Linked DNA regions of Homo sapiens: region 1 is linked to region 2. Evidence: promoter capture Hi-C in 16 types of primary human blood cells and fetal thymus (Javierre and others, 2016). All regions are on one chromosome and are shown on one strand. The core of a region is centred on a gene start or on the middle of the fragment in contact, and the rest is flanking DNA. Distances in the headings are between cores, read along the strand shown.

Region 1 (6,312 bases), core at 2,534-5,033, 530 kb before region 2:
AGGGCAACCTTTGTATCATACAACTACAGTTTTCTAGTCGTATTGATTTGATCATGGATGAACAATGACCCAAGCTGGAATAACCATGTTCTCTTTCCAAAAATGTTGGGATATAAAAACATAGACTGAAACACCATGTTATATTTCTGTTGGAAACTGGAACTGTAAATTTATGGAGAGAAGAGAGAATGTCAGAAAAAGAGCCAACCAGATTCTTCTGGTGCAAGCTACAATCACTAAAAAGTAAAATCTAGAACTTTGCAAGAGAGCATCGTCTATGAGAAAATGATACATTGTATCTTTTCACAAGGATAGAGTGTGAGAGGCTAACTGCCAGGCAAACATCTACTTCATTGAAGGCCTAGCAATGTTGCTTGCTGTTGTGTTCCATGAGATCATTTTTCTCTTTGTGATAAACATCCTATTAACTTGGGCCTTTTTGAAGGGGTTCCATTTCTTTCAACCAAAGAGCTCTTTACTATTGCTAATGACTGGATATAGTAAAGACTTGACATGTTGATGAAGTAAGCTTGTTGAATTGTTTAAGCAGGCTTTCAAAATATTGTTTTAAGTATGATAGAAAGTTGCTCAGATTTCTGATAGATATGCACAGCTAGAATAAGTAAGATACCACTCTTCTCCCTCATTTGAACAAGGCTGAATTTAGTGATTACTCAGCTGCATATGGGCACTGTGAAGATACACTTGTATGTAGCATGTTCACTATTTGAGGAGAATATTTAGACTTATACCTACCCTGTTCTAGATATGAATGGATCTTATTTATTCAGTAATTTGAAACTATAACATCTTTCCTACCTCTTGTTTTTTCTTTTCCCTATTTTATAACACAGTGGCCAAGTTAAATGGATGATTTTGATGAGAGAAGAAGGTTTGTATTACATTTTATTTTTAAACTTTAAAAACTGTGCATTGGCCAGGTGCAGTGGTGCACGCCTGTAATCCCAGCACTTTGGGAGGCCGAGGCAGGTGGATCACGTGAGGTCAGGAGTTCGAGACCAGCCTGGCCAACATGGTGAAACCCTATCTCTACTAAAAATACAAAAATTAGCCAGGCATGCTGGTGGGCGCCTCTAAACCCAGCTACACAGGAGGCTTAGGCAGGAGAATCACTTGAACTCGGGAGGTGGAGGTTTCAGTGAGCCGAGATTGTGCTATTGCCCTCCAGCCTGGGCAACAAGAGCAAAATCCCGTCTCAAACAAACCAACTAAAAACAAAAAAAAAACTGTGCATTAAATGCCTACTATTTGCAGGTGTTCTGTTGAGTGCCAAGAAGGCTATAAGTATGATTAACGGATGGTCCTTACATTGTCTCCTCCTCTACAAAGAAACTCTTGAACTAAAGAAAATCTTTTGAGCAATGGTCCGTTTTGCTCACCACAATGGCCAAATTACGCAGATTGGTTCACTTTCCTTCATAGTAGAGACCCATCTTTGGACAGCCGATTATGTCACCTTTCTCACAAAATGGGCAAGATTTTTTAGAGTAAATCTGGAAGTCACTATGACGTTACTTTCATAAAATATTTAATACATTTCTCAAAGAACCTAAGGAACTCTACCTTAGTAAGATTTAGTTTAGTCTTTTAAACACCAAACCCAAAAAACACATAAAACAGGTATGTATATGGGACGGGGAGCAGATGAACAATGGTTTTTATTATGAATTAGTCAGCAATTGAGTTAGTAAATATTATAAAAATACAGTAGTCCCCATGAGGGATATATTCCAAAGCTCCCAGTGAATGCCTGAAATTGTGGATACTGCCAAACCCTATATATATATATATATATATATATATACATATACTATGTATTTTCCTATACATACATGCCTATGATAAAGTTCAATTTGTAATAAGAGTACTGTAATAAGAGTTATATAAATATGGTGTCTCCCTCAAAATATCTTATTGTACTGCACTTCCTTCTAGTTTTTTGTTTGTTTTTGTTTGTTTCCTTGTTTAAGAGAGAGGGTCTTGCTCTATTACCCAGGCTGGAGTGCAGGGATGTGATCATAGCTCAAAGCAGCCTTGAACTCCTGGGCTCAAGCGATCCTCCAGCGTTGGCTTTCCAAATTGCTGGAATTAGAAGCATGAGCCACTGCACATGGCCTACCCTTCTTGGGATCAAGAAAAGACAGAACAGAACAGTGTGAGATTTCATCAAGCTACTAAAAATGGTGCACAATTTAAAACTTATGAGGTATTTATTACTGAAATTTTCCATACAATGTTTTCAGACTGGTTGACCACAAGTAACTGAAATCAGATAAAGCAAAACCACAGATAAAAGGGGACTACTATATTTTATGCTTTCTAAAGTGAAGGATAAATGAGTTATTTCGAAAGAGGAAACAGTGTTTATAGTTGTATTCTTCCTCACTCTATTTTAACGCTGCAGGACAGCTGGTCTGTTACATTATTATATTTCAGTTCCAATTATTTGTCATTCAAATTCTAAATGTGTGATATAATGAATGTGGAAGAGAGAAGTATTATGGCCAATGTTTTTTGGCAATTGTGCTCATGGTTTTTCTAATGCAAACTATGTCCAATCCTAAAAGTCAATAAGAAAAATATCTTTAAAACTTTCAAGTACTTATTATAGTTAAAAGTTAAAGCCATGCTATTATGGTAAAAAGTATAATAGTATATATAAAACTATGGGCCTAGCTGACAAATTGAAGATTATTTTGAGAAGAGAAATAATTAAGGACCAGACAGATTTAAGCAAGATTAAAGTAATGTAATAACTCAATAATAGGACTTCATGACTGTTAAATGGATGGCAAAGTAACCTCAGAATAACTTGAAGATGTACAAATTAAGGCAGAGTAAAATTGATTATAATAGTGTAAAATTGAGCAAAAAATGTACATAGATCATTACATAAAACACAAGGATAAATGTAATTGGATTAAAGTTATCTCATAGAAGAAGTGATTTTATTTGTAATAAGTCAACTGCATTTTTATCCTTTTTAAAATCTGAAATAAACTTAATAAGACATCATATAATTTTTTCTAGAGGTAACCAGGTAACAAGTTCTAATAGCTCAAGTTTTCTATGAATAGAATGAGACTAAAGAAAGGAAAGTATCCTGGGCCTTCTGAATGTTACTAATGAGTGGAAATAAGAGAACATTAATGAGGAACTTTAATTTCTCATATCCCCATTTAGAAAAATGTATTCATTATTTTTTAATTTTTTGCTCCTGTAGAGAATTAAAATAAACATTCCAATTTTACAATCCACACAGGGAGTAGTAATAATATCTTTCTCATGGTTCTTGTCTCCTAACTCCTCTTACTTTTTCATATCTTCTTTTTTAAGTTCAGGGGTATGAGTGCAGGTTTGTTACATGGGTGAACTTGTGTCTTGGAGGTCTGTTGTACAGATTATTTTGTCACCCAGGTATTAAGCCTGGTACCCATTAGTTATTCTTCCTGATCCTCCCCCTCCTTCCACCCTTCACCCACTGACAGGCCCCAGTGTGTGTTGTTTCCCCTCTATGTGTCTATGTGTTGTCATCATTTAGCTCACACTTATAAGTGAGAGCATGTGGTGTTTGGTTTTCTGTTCCTGCATTAGTTTGCTAAGGATAATGGTCTGCAGCTCCATCCATGTCACTGCAAAGGCCATGATGTCATTCTTTTTTATGGCTGCATAGTAGTCCATGGTGCATATGTATCACATTTTCTTTATTCTATCATTGATGGGCATTTAGGTTGATTCCATGTCTTTGCTATTATGAATAGTGCTGCAATGAACATACACGTCTGTGTGTATTTATAATAGAATTTTTTATATCCCTTTGGGTATATATCCATTAATGGGATTGCTGGGTCAAGTGGTGTTTCTGTAGGTCTTTAAGGAATAGCCACACTGTCTTCCACAATGGTTGAAATAATTTATGATACTGTCTCTTTTTTAATCAAATTAACTTTTCCACATCATTCCCATGTACATGTACCATTTTACCTTCTCTTCTTCTTGCTTGCATCTTTTGTATATTATATAATATAAACAGTCATTCCTATAGCAGAATAATCAAAAGAACTTTAAAAATCAACAAATATAAATGCTAATATGCTTGATGAGAGCTTCCTACCCTTTCTGATTTTTATTTGGAAACTCAGTTCTTCATTTGTTTGATGCTATTTCGTTTCAATTAGTGTTTCTAACTATAAATCACAGATCAACTGATTTATTTTGTTTATTAATATTTCATTGCTAAGTTCTTAATATATTTGGAAATTCAGTGCAATATTTTTTTCTCAGAAAATAATTATCCCTTCCACCTTATGTCTATCTAATTCCATTTTATCCCTAGAGTCATCACACAGATGAAGGAGCTCTTGAAGTACACTCCAAAGTCTTTCACAATATACATTAACTAAAATGCTATCACATGAAAAATAATTACATTTAATACTTTTTAGAGGTGCTTCTGGTTATTGTCAACCAGTGAATTGGCAAAGGAAACTAGAAAGTAATATACCATACAACCAATAGTGAGTTTCTCATTTTTTTCCCCCAGTATCTTCTGACCTAAACTTAAAAGCAGTCAAGAAATGTACACTGGGTGCAGACAGAAAGAGTTCCAAAGGAACCTATTTCTAGGCCATCCGATGAGCAGGAAAGGAGGCCCCTGTGAGTCAACGAGAGTGGGACAATTTTCTTCTTTTTTGTGTGTGTGTTACTTTTGGCGCCACCTTCCAAGTAATCCTGTAGCAGCAATGGCAGCAACAGCATCAGTGAGTAGTCAACAGCCTAAAACTTAAGAGAGTGGCGTTTTATCGTTGACCAGAGAATCTGATCTCAAGAGGGGAGAATGTCCAATAATTTATTTTTCTCTCTTTACCCTCTCACCACTTGGCTCTGGATGCAGACACATTTTCAGGAATGCATGACACAGTAGGAAACTAAAGCCACAGCTTTTTATGAAGAGGATCAGTGAGAAGGGCCTCTGGGAGTTAGAAACCACTGGGAGAGTATAGAGAGGAGAGAGCTCAAGAAAGCAATACTCTAAAGTTTTGTATTTGCTTTTGTCCTTGCCCTGTAACTATTTTCAAATTTGACTCTAAACAGTGTGTAGAAGGATTCAAGAACTGAACTGTGAATTTAGACTGCCATCCACGTCTCATAGTAGCTATCGTGTTGCATTTGAAATTGAACTAACATTGAAACTACAGCCCACAGAAAGCAGGTATAAACTTGCTGCTTTAATCTCACAAGCCAATTTCATGCCCAAACAAGCAAGTAAATAAATAAATGAGTATTTTTCCATAGGACTAAAATAAAACCCAGAGTCATATAATATTCAAAAGACCCAAGATATAATCCAAAATTGTTCAATATATAAGAACCAGGAAAATCTCAGCATGTTGCTAGGTAAAATACAATAAATACCAACACATAGCAATTGAAATTATTAGACTAGGATTGTAAAATAGCTATTATAGCCATGTTCCAAAAAGTAAGTACATTGAACACACCTGAAATGAATGGAAAGCTGGAAAGTCTCAGCAGAGAAAGATATAGAAAGAAACCAAATGGACATTTTGGAACTGAAAATTACAAGTGAAAACAATTTCACTGTATGCTTGACAGCAGAATGAAGATGACAGAGGAAATCAGTACACTTAAAGACAGATTAATATAAATGATCTAATCTGAACAAGAGGAAAAAGATTTTAAAATATTGAAAGATAAATAAATACCTTCTCAGATTGAGAAAAGCTGAGGGAATTTGTTAATAGCAGACTTACTCTTAAAGAAATACTAAAAGATCTTTAGATGAAAGGGAATTGCTACTAGAGAGAAAGAATTTTAAGAATAAAGGGAGAACAATGAAAATGGCAAACATCGGGGTAAATACGATAGATAATATTTCTCCTCTAAAGTTCTATAAAATATATATGATGGTGCTTCAGTGTATATATGTGCAACACTTATGATACCTGCAAGACAAATGAAGCAGAGTAAAGGGACCTATCTATATGATAAGGTTTCTACATTCCCTTTAAATTAAAATATTAATTCAGAGTAGATGATGAAAAGTTAACCATGTCTATTTTAATTCCTAGAGCAACCACTATGAAAAACTATTCGAAGAGATATAGCTGAAGTGGAATATTAAAAATTATTCAAATAATTCAAAATAAGGCAGAAGCTAGGAAACAGAGAAACAAAGAATAAAGAGAACAAATGGTAAAGAAATAATAAGATGACAGAGCTACTGTTACATTCTAAATTTCATCCTAGGAGTCCTATGACCTCTTAAAT
Region 2 (6,448 bases), core at 873-3,372:
TAAATATCAACCATGTTTTCCTTCATTGTTTTCCAGTGTATTATATTGCGAAACTAGATTCTCAATTGACTGAGGTGTTTAATCCACTTGCAAATAGATTGTAAATGAATACAAAATAAGTCACTGAGAAGCATTTAACATAATTTAAAAATCAACAAGAAATTTGTCCAAATATTTAATAACATATTAATTTAAACGAGGGTTAGCAAGCATGTTACTACTTTTTTGAAACAAAAATCAGTTCTCCCATTTACTAGCTTCATAGCCACTGTTGACAATCCTATTATTTATTTTTCAGCCTTCCCTTTGAAAGATGCTTAGCAAAAATCAACTAAGTAACAACCAAAGATCTCATTCTCTTTAACATCTTCCAGGATCACAAATTTCAATTATTCTCTGCCTGAGTTATCACAATTCAAACTGGAGAATGAAGAGTAAACACAAGCAAAAGAAGATAAAATCTATTAAAAGATCGAGAGACACCAGACACAAATGGGTTAAAAGAAGAAGAAGAATTAAAGGTTATACTGTTTTGATTACACACATAGAGGCTAGGAAGAAGAAAATGAATTGAGATTACCTGTTAGAAATAGGCGGTTTCTGGTTTCTGGGAGCTGTCCAATGTACTGAGTGAACCATCATAACCACAACTTACCCCCTTAATAGGGACTGACGTCCTGGGCAGTTCTCTTTTGAACCGGGATGTTTCTACATTCATCTTTTTAGGCTATTTCTTCCAATCTACCTTTAAAATTATCTTCTAATCTGTCACTTTGACACAATGGGTCTTTTAAATAAATCTTTACACAGTACTGAATAATTAAGTAAATATAGTTATTGGCAAACAAAGAAAAAGAACCTTTTTGTTAAAATATTTGGGATACTCGAGATAATATAAAATGAGTAATCTCTTATTTTTCTTATGCCAAATTTAAAATCTCTTTCTTTTCTCAAAAATAACGATCTAACGATAGCCAAAAACTCCCTTAAATATATTTCAATAAATCATTGTTTCTGCACTTAAGTCTTACTGTAGGACAATACAAATCAATGAGGAAAATACGCCAGATGGAAGTGTTAGGTTTTTTTCTTTGTTCGGGAACAAATACTCGATCCGCAATTTAAAAGTCCGAAGACTCCTCAGCAGAGGGTGAGCTGATTGACTCTTTGGCTTATCAAGGGCAAATCGCATTTCTGAAAAGAGCTTGAAGTGGTTTTGTTTGTGAGGAGAGTTTGCTTTGTCCCCCACACTGAAAAGTATACAGCAAAGCCCGAGCATAGAAAATATCCTGAGCTTAAATTTCTCATTTTATTGCCATCATAACTTTTCCTCTTGGAATAAAATCCTCTATTTTATATGAGTAGGAGGTAAAGGTAGGGAAAGGAAAGTCAAGTATCTCAATTGTTACGCTGATTGCATCCAAACAGACTTTAGAAGTCAGGGTTTGTAACGTGGCAGGAGAGCTGTTTGCGATGCCCTGGAAAGAAAAGAAAGCCGGTTCCAACAGCGACTCTGGGGAATGCACTCTCGGTCCCCCTGCCATGCTTACTTAAGCTAATTGAAGGTCTTGCCTTTCAGCAGCCGCTGCACTGGGATACCAGACAAACAGCTCCCCTTGATGCCAGGCAGGCAGGGCCCCTCTTCAGGACATCATTAAAAGCACATGCACTTGCTCCACATCCATTGGCAGATGGTGGCAAGATTCAAGACTCCTACCCTGAAGTCAAGGAGAAGCCATCGCGGTGGAAAACATCCTCGCTTTGAAAATCCAACACGAAATTAAAGAACTACACGAGATAAGGAGCCTGGAGAACATTAGTTGGCTGCAGGGGTGAAGACAGACACAAAAAGCACAGCAGGTAAGAGCTGGGGGTTGTTGCCAACAAGGAACTGTCCCGGGTGGCGCAGAGAAAAGGATCTCAGAACTGGAGCCCTGTCCCTTTGAGTCTTCCATGCGTGCTCAAGCTTGTCATCTTCCATAAGCTTCGAGAGAAGGGACGTTGTCAGAGCATTCCTTATCGGTGCGACTAATCCTGTTATCAGCTTGGTTATAAATATTTAATGTTCCCTGGCCTTTCGGTGATGGTGCCCCATCAGATTCAAGGCTGTTAAGAATCCCCACCAGCAACCTCGCCCCTCCCTGCGGAAAACCGATGAGAGGCAGGGCCAAGCCGAAGCGATGGCGGCCTATCCGGAGAGCTGCGTGGACACTACGGTGCTGGACTTCGTCGCAGACCTGTCCCTGGCCTCCCCGAGACGCCCTCTCCTCTGCGACTTCGCACCCGGGGTCTCCTTGGGGGACCCAGCCCTTGCGCTCCGAGAGGGAAGACCCAGGAGGATGGCGCGGTTTGAAGAGGGGGACCCAGAAGAAGAGGAGTGCGAAGTGGACCAGGGGGACGGAGAAGAGGAGGAGGAAGAGGAGCGCGGAAGAGGTGTCTCCCTATTAGGCCGCCCCAAGAGGAAAAGGGTGATCACCTACGCCCAGCGCCAGGCCGCCAACATCCGCGAAAGGAAGCGGATGTTCAACCTCAACGAGGCCTTTGACCAGCTGCGGAGGAAGGTGCCCACGTTTGCTTACGAGAAAAGGCTGTCCCGGATCGAGACCCTCCGCCTGGCCATCGTCTATATCTCCTTCATGACCGAGCTCTTGGAGAGCTGTGAGAAGAAGGAAAGCGGCTGAGCCTGGTGTGGAGAGTCTGCCCTTCCTCGTCTGGTAGTGCTGGGGTGTGTCAGGACCGGGCACTGGGTGAGGCTAAAGGGCCGGGAGGGAGGCCCCAAGACAGAACGTCTGGTCTTCTGGAGGTCGGGGTCGAGATTGTAAGATCCCCACATGCGCTGAGCAGAGTGGCTGCTGTAGAGTTCATATCTACGCGACCGCCCTAAGTGAAGTCGGGGTCAGGGGCGAGCGGGGAAGTCAGAGAGCGTGAGGCTGAGTCGGGGCCGTTCAGGCTGCTCCTAAGAGCTTCCGTGGGCTGGGTGGGTGGGAAGTGAACCCTCCTCGCAAATGGCAGACTTTGGAGCTTCTATAAAATCTAACCTCTCTTCTTTACATTTTTTTTTTCATAGAGATAATAAAGTAGAAATTCTTACGTTTTTAAAAAGCCTGAAGGGTCGGTGGTACGCCATCCCCAGCAGGCGCTCCAGCGGGCGCCTGCGTGGAGGGTCTGAAGCAGACGCCGCAAGGGTGCGGGGGTGCGAGCTTTTCTGCTAGCCAGAGGGTTCTGCCTGGTCCTCCGAGGCTTGTCCAGGAACTGAGGAAAGGAAAAATGGAAGGCAGAGCAGTCGAGAGGAACTGCTGACAAAGTGCGACCTCTGAGAAGGGACACCCTTCCTGTCTTCCATTCCCTCTCCCTCCCGTCCCTTCCTCTCTCCCGCGCGCAAGCCCTCTCTCTTCCTTTCTCCCTCCCCTTCGCCACCTAGTTGATCCCAGACGGACCACAGCTCCTTGTCCCAGGGCCACAGTGGTGTTCATTCAGTGCCTTAGCCAGAGTGCAAATCTACGCTTTGCATCTAAAGTGCAGCATCAGCTTCCGTGTTCCAGTGCCTTCTTCAGGCCCCAGGCCAGAGTAAGGGGCGAGTGCACTCGGGTCACTCCTGGGCCGCAGGGGGCCTTGGGCGCCCTGCAGCTTCGCCACCAGCCACCGCTACCAACTGTCCCCGGCCAGGGGTTGGGGTATGAAGGGGCCTGGATCTTTCTAGGAGCAGGGCCGCCTGAGCGCGCTCACTTTTACATTTTTAGCTGTAGGTAGGAAAGATAGCTTTCACTCTAATGGCTTCTAGAGACTACCAGGGGAGACAAAAAGTCCAAAGAGGAGATGCCTTCTGACGCCTTGCAAAACGCCTGCCATGCAGATGAGGTTGAAGCGGGTCCATGCTGAGAGGCCGCCTCTAGTTTGGACCCGTGCCATTCCAGGATTCTTCCTTCTAGGTGACGTGCTAGTACCAGAACTGGGGTCTTTCAGAAAGGAGTGGGTAACTGAGGCGAGGAACCCGATTGAATAATGCCAACCTAAACATAAATTCAGTAATCCTAAAGGATAATCCCCAGTGATTATTCCAACACTTTATTTCGCCCCTCATTGCACACAGAAATAGGCGGGAGCCTGTGCGAACACACAATTCTCTTAATCATGCTTTCGGAAATAGAATTCATTTCATTAATAAGTAACATATACTCATCCTAGAAATTTTGGAAAAAAAAATTTCAAAAAAGAGAAAATTCGAATCACTCCACGTTACCATACTGTTAGCATTTTCATCTATTTCTTTCCAGTCTTTTTTTCCCTGTGCAGTTATAAATTCAATATATTTTACTAATTCGAGATACTTTGGGATACTGATATTTTTCCACTTGGCATTATAGAAGGTGCAATGTTTTCCCTTAACTTTAATATTATTCAAATGTGATTTTGATTACCATATCTTATTGTCTTATCCATGTATCACACCACCACCAGCCCTTTCCAGATAGATAGCTATTTCCTTTTTAAAAAATAAATGATGCTGCTAAGAGCATTCTTGTAAATGCCTTCTCTGTCTATTATTACTTCCTAACATTTGATACCTAGAAGTGAAATTTCTGGATTCAAGTTTGTGGATATAAATGGCCAGATTCCCTTCTTGGTGGGTTCTGCCAGTTCACTCTCCCACCCTCTAGCATTGCAGGGATTTGCCTGTTTCCCAGCCCCTTCATTAGTACTTCGAATATTTAAAACTTTTCTTAGTTTTCCTTTTCATAGGACCTGGATTAGTTCTGAAACGAGCCCCCACTCCCAAGATGTTTTTTTACTTTTACTGTGTCTTTCCACCAAGAATTTTTTCAACTGCACCGTAAGAACATCAGGATAAACAGGTAAACAAAAAAAAAATACATAAACAGCTAACACCAAACAACAACAAAGCCCCATAGAGTGTTGTTTTTTCTTATTCTTCCACCAATTCAATTTCTCCTGGAAATTAAACATCATTCTTTTTTAAAAAATCATCTGAAAGTGTTGAATAAATAAAAAGAAAAAAAAGTAATTCCAATCTAGGAATTCTTAATATTTTGCTGAAAGAACAAGTTTTGAAAACCAGAAATAAAGCAAAATTGTGTAGACCAGGGACCATCAACATTCCTAAGTCGTGAGGAGTCAGCACAGCCACCCGTTTTCGTTAGTCTTCTCCATCATATTCTAATACATTTTGTTCCTAGAAAGCAAATAATATTCCTCCAGTGAATACCTCTTCATCATAGTAAATGATACCTAAAAAACTTCTAAATTAAAAGTTATTTTCTTATTATCAACAGAGGAATTATCCACCCTTCTTAAAAAAAAAAACTTTAATCGTTTATAAATGCTTTGCTATTTGTAAGTTTACATGTTTAGGAACTGCCTCAAATGTAGTCTTTTAAGATATTTTCATAATAATTTTACTCAGAGTAATTTGAACCCAGGTAAGGATCAGAGTCACATAGAAAGGGATTGACATTCCTTTCATCAAATGCCAATAGAGGTAAGACAAAATGATCCACGTCCTGAACTTAAATCGAGTATACCTCCATATTTTGACCCTCAACTTTTCTAAGCATTATTTTAATTTTAGTTTTCCTCATGTTAGATGCATAAAATCAGTGCACCTTTAACACAAGTTTTTTGTTTGTTTGTTTGTTTGAGATGGAGTCTCGCTCTGTCGCCAGGCTGGAGTGCAGTGGTGCGATCTCAGCTCACTGCAACCTCCAACTCCCTGGTTCAAGCGATTCTCCTGCCTCAGACTCCCAAGTAGCTGGGATTACAGGCACGCGCAACCACACCCAGCTAATTTTTAATACAAGGGTTTTTGAATGTAACACCCACTACATTAAAATAGTTTTACTGTTTATTATCTCCTAAACTACCATTGATAGAAATATGAGTAGATATTGCCTTTTCAGTAACTTCAGCCAGGCTTTTTTTAAGACCTAATGGTGTCAGTTACTTCTGGAAAATTAAAATAATTTGTTTTTGAAATCTTAAAGTCATTTGAACATTTAGAATCTAAATACCATCTGAGATGTTGCTTGGAGGTGATTTATTTATATACTCTCTACTGATGGAACACTGCCTTTTGGTCTCAAACTAAGTTCCCCATAGCTATCAGATTACTATTAGTATTCAGACAAGTAAGCCATAAAAAGATCTAAATGAAATCATATTTGAAAGACATAATTAGGCTTTCTGAGGAATCTAAAAATAATCAGAAGCCCTTACCATCAACAGGGAGTCATTTAGGCTGATCATCTTTTACAGTTAGTTGCCCAGCGTTAAAGCAGATTTTGGCAAAATTAAGTGCTGGAAACTGAACCAAATATTCTGCTAGTATGCATAATTCCTACATGCAGACATATGATACAATTAAGACCCTTGGATTAGTGTTTATTATCACATTTGTCAGCATTTCCATTATAAAATAATCTTTTGGGAGGTT

The links. The method cuts DNA at HindIII sites, captures the fragments that hold promoters and counts their contacts. A CHiCAGO score of 5 or more calls a contact.
Region 1: a contact is called between a fragment that was not itself captured here and the fragment with the promoter of FERD3L in region 2, in 1 of 17 cell types (M0 macrophages). The highest score is 5.9, in M0 macrophages.

Annotation. Positions count from the first base shown.
Region 1 is chr7:19,673,364-19,679,675 of GRCh38, reverse strand. No RefSeq gene overlaps it. Among named protein-coding and RNA genes, the nearest start is that of MIR3146, 29 kb to the left of the region's middle. The HindIII fragment of the contact is 6,504 bases long and covers 532-6,312 here.
Region 2 is chr7:19,141,095-19,147,542 of GRCh38, reverse strand. FERD3L (Fer3 like bHLH transcription factor) reads left to right here and starts at 2,122. Exons shown (of 1, transcript NM_152898.2): 1 at 2,122-2,761. The coding sequence starts at 2,181. The coding sequence ends at 2,681. RefSeq lists enhancers at 1,076-1,724, 2,190-3,389. The HindIII fragment of the contact is 4,985 bases long and covers 1,987-6,448 here.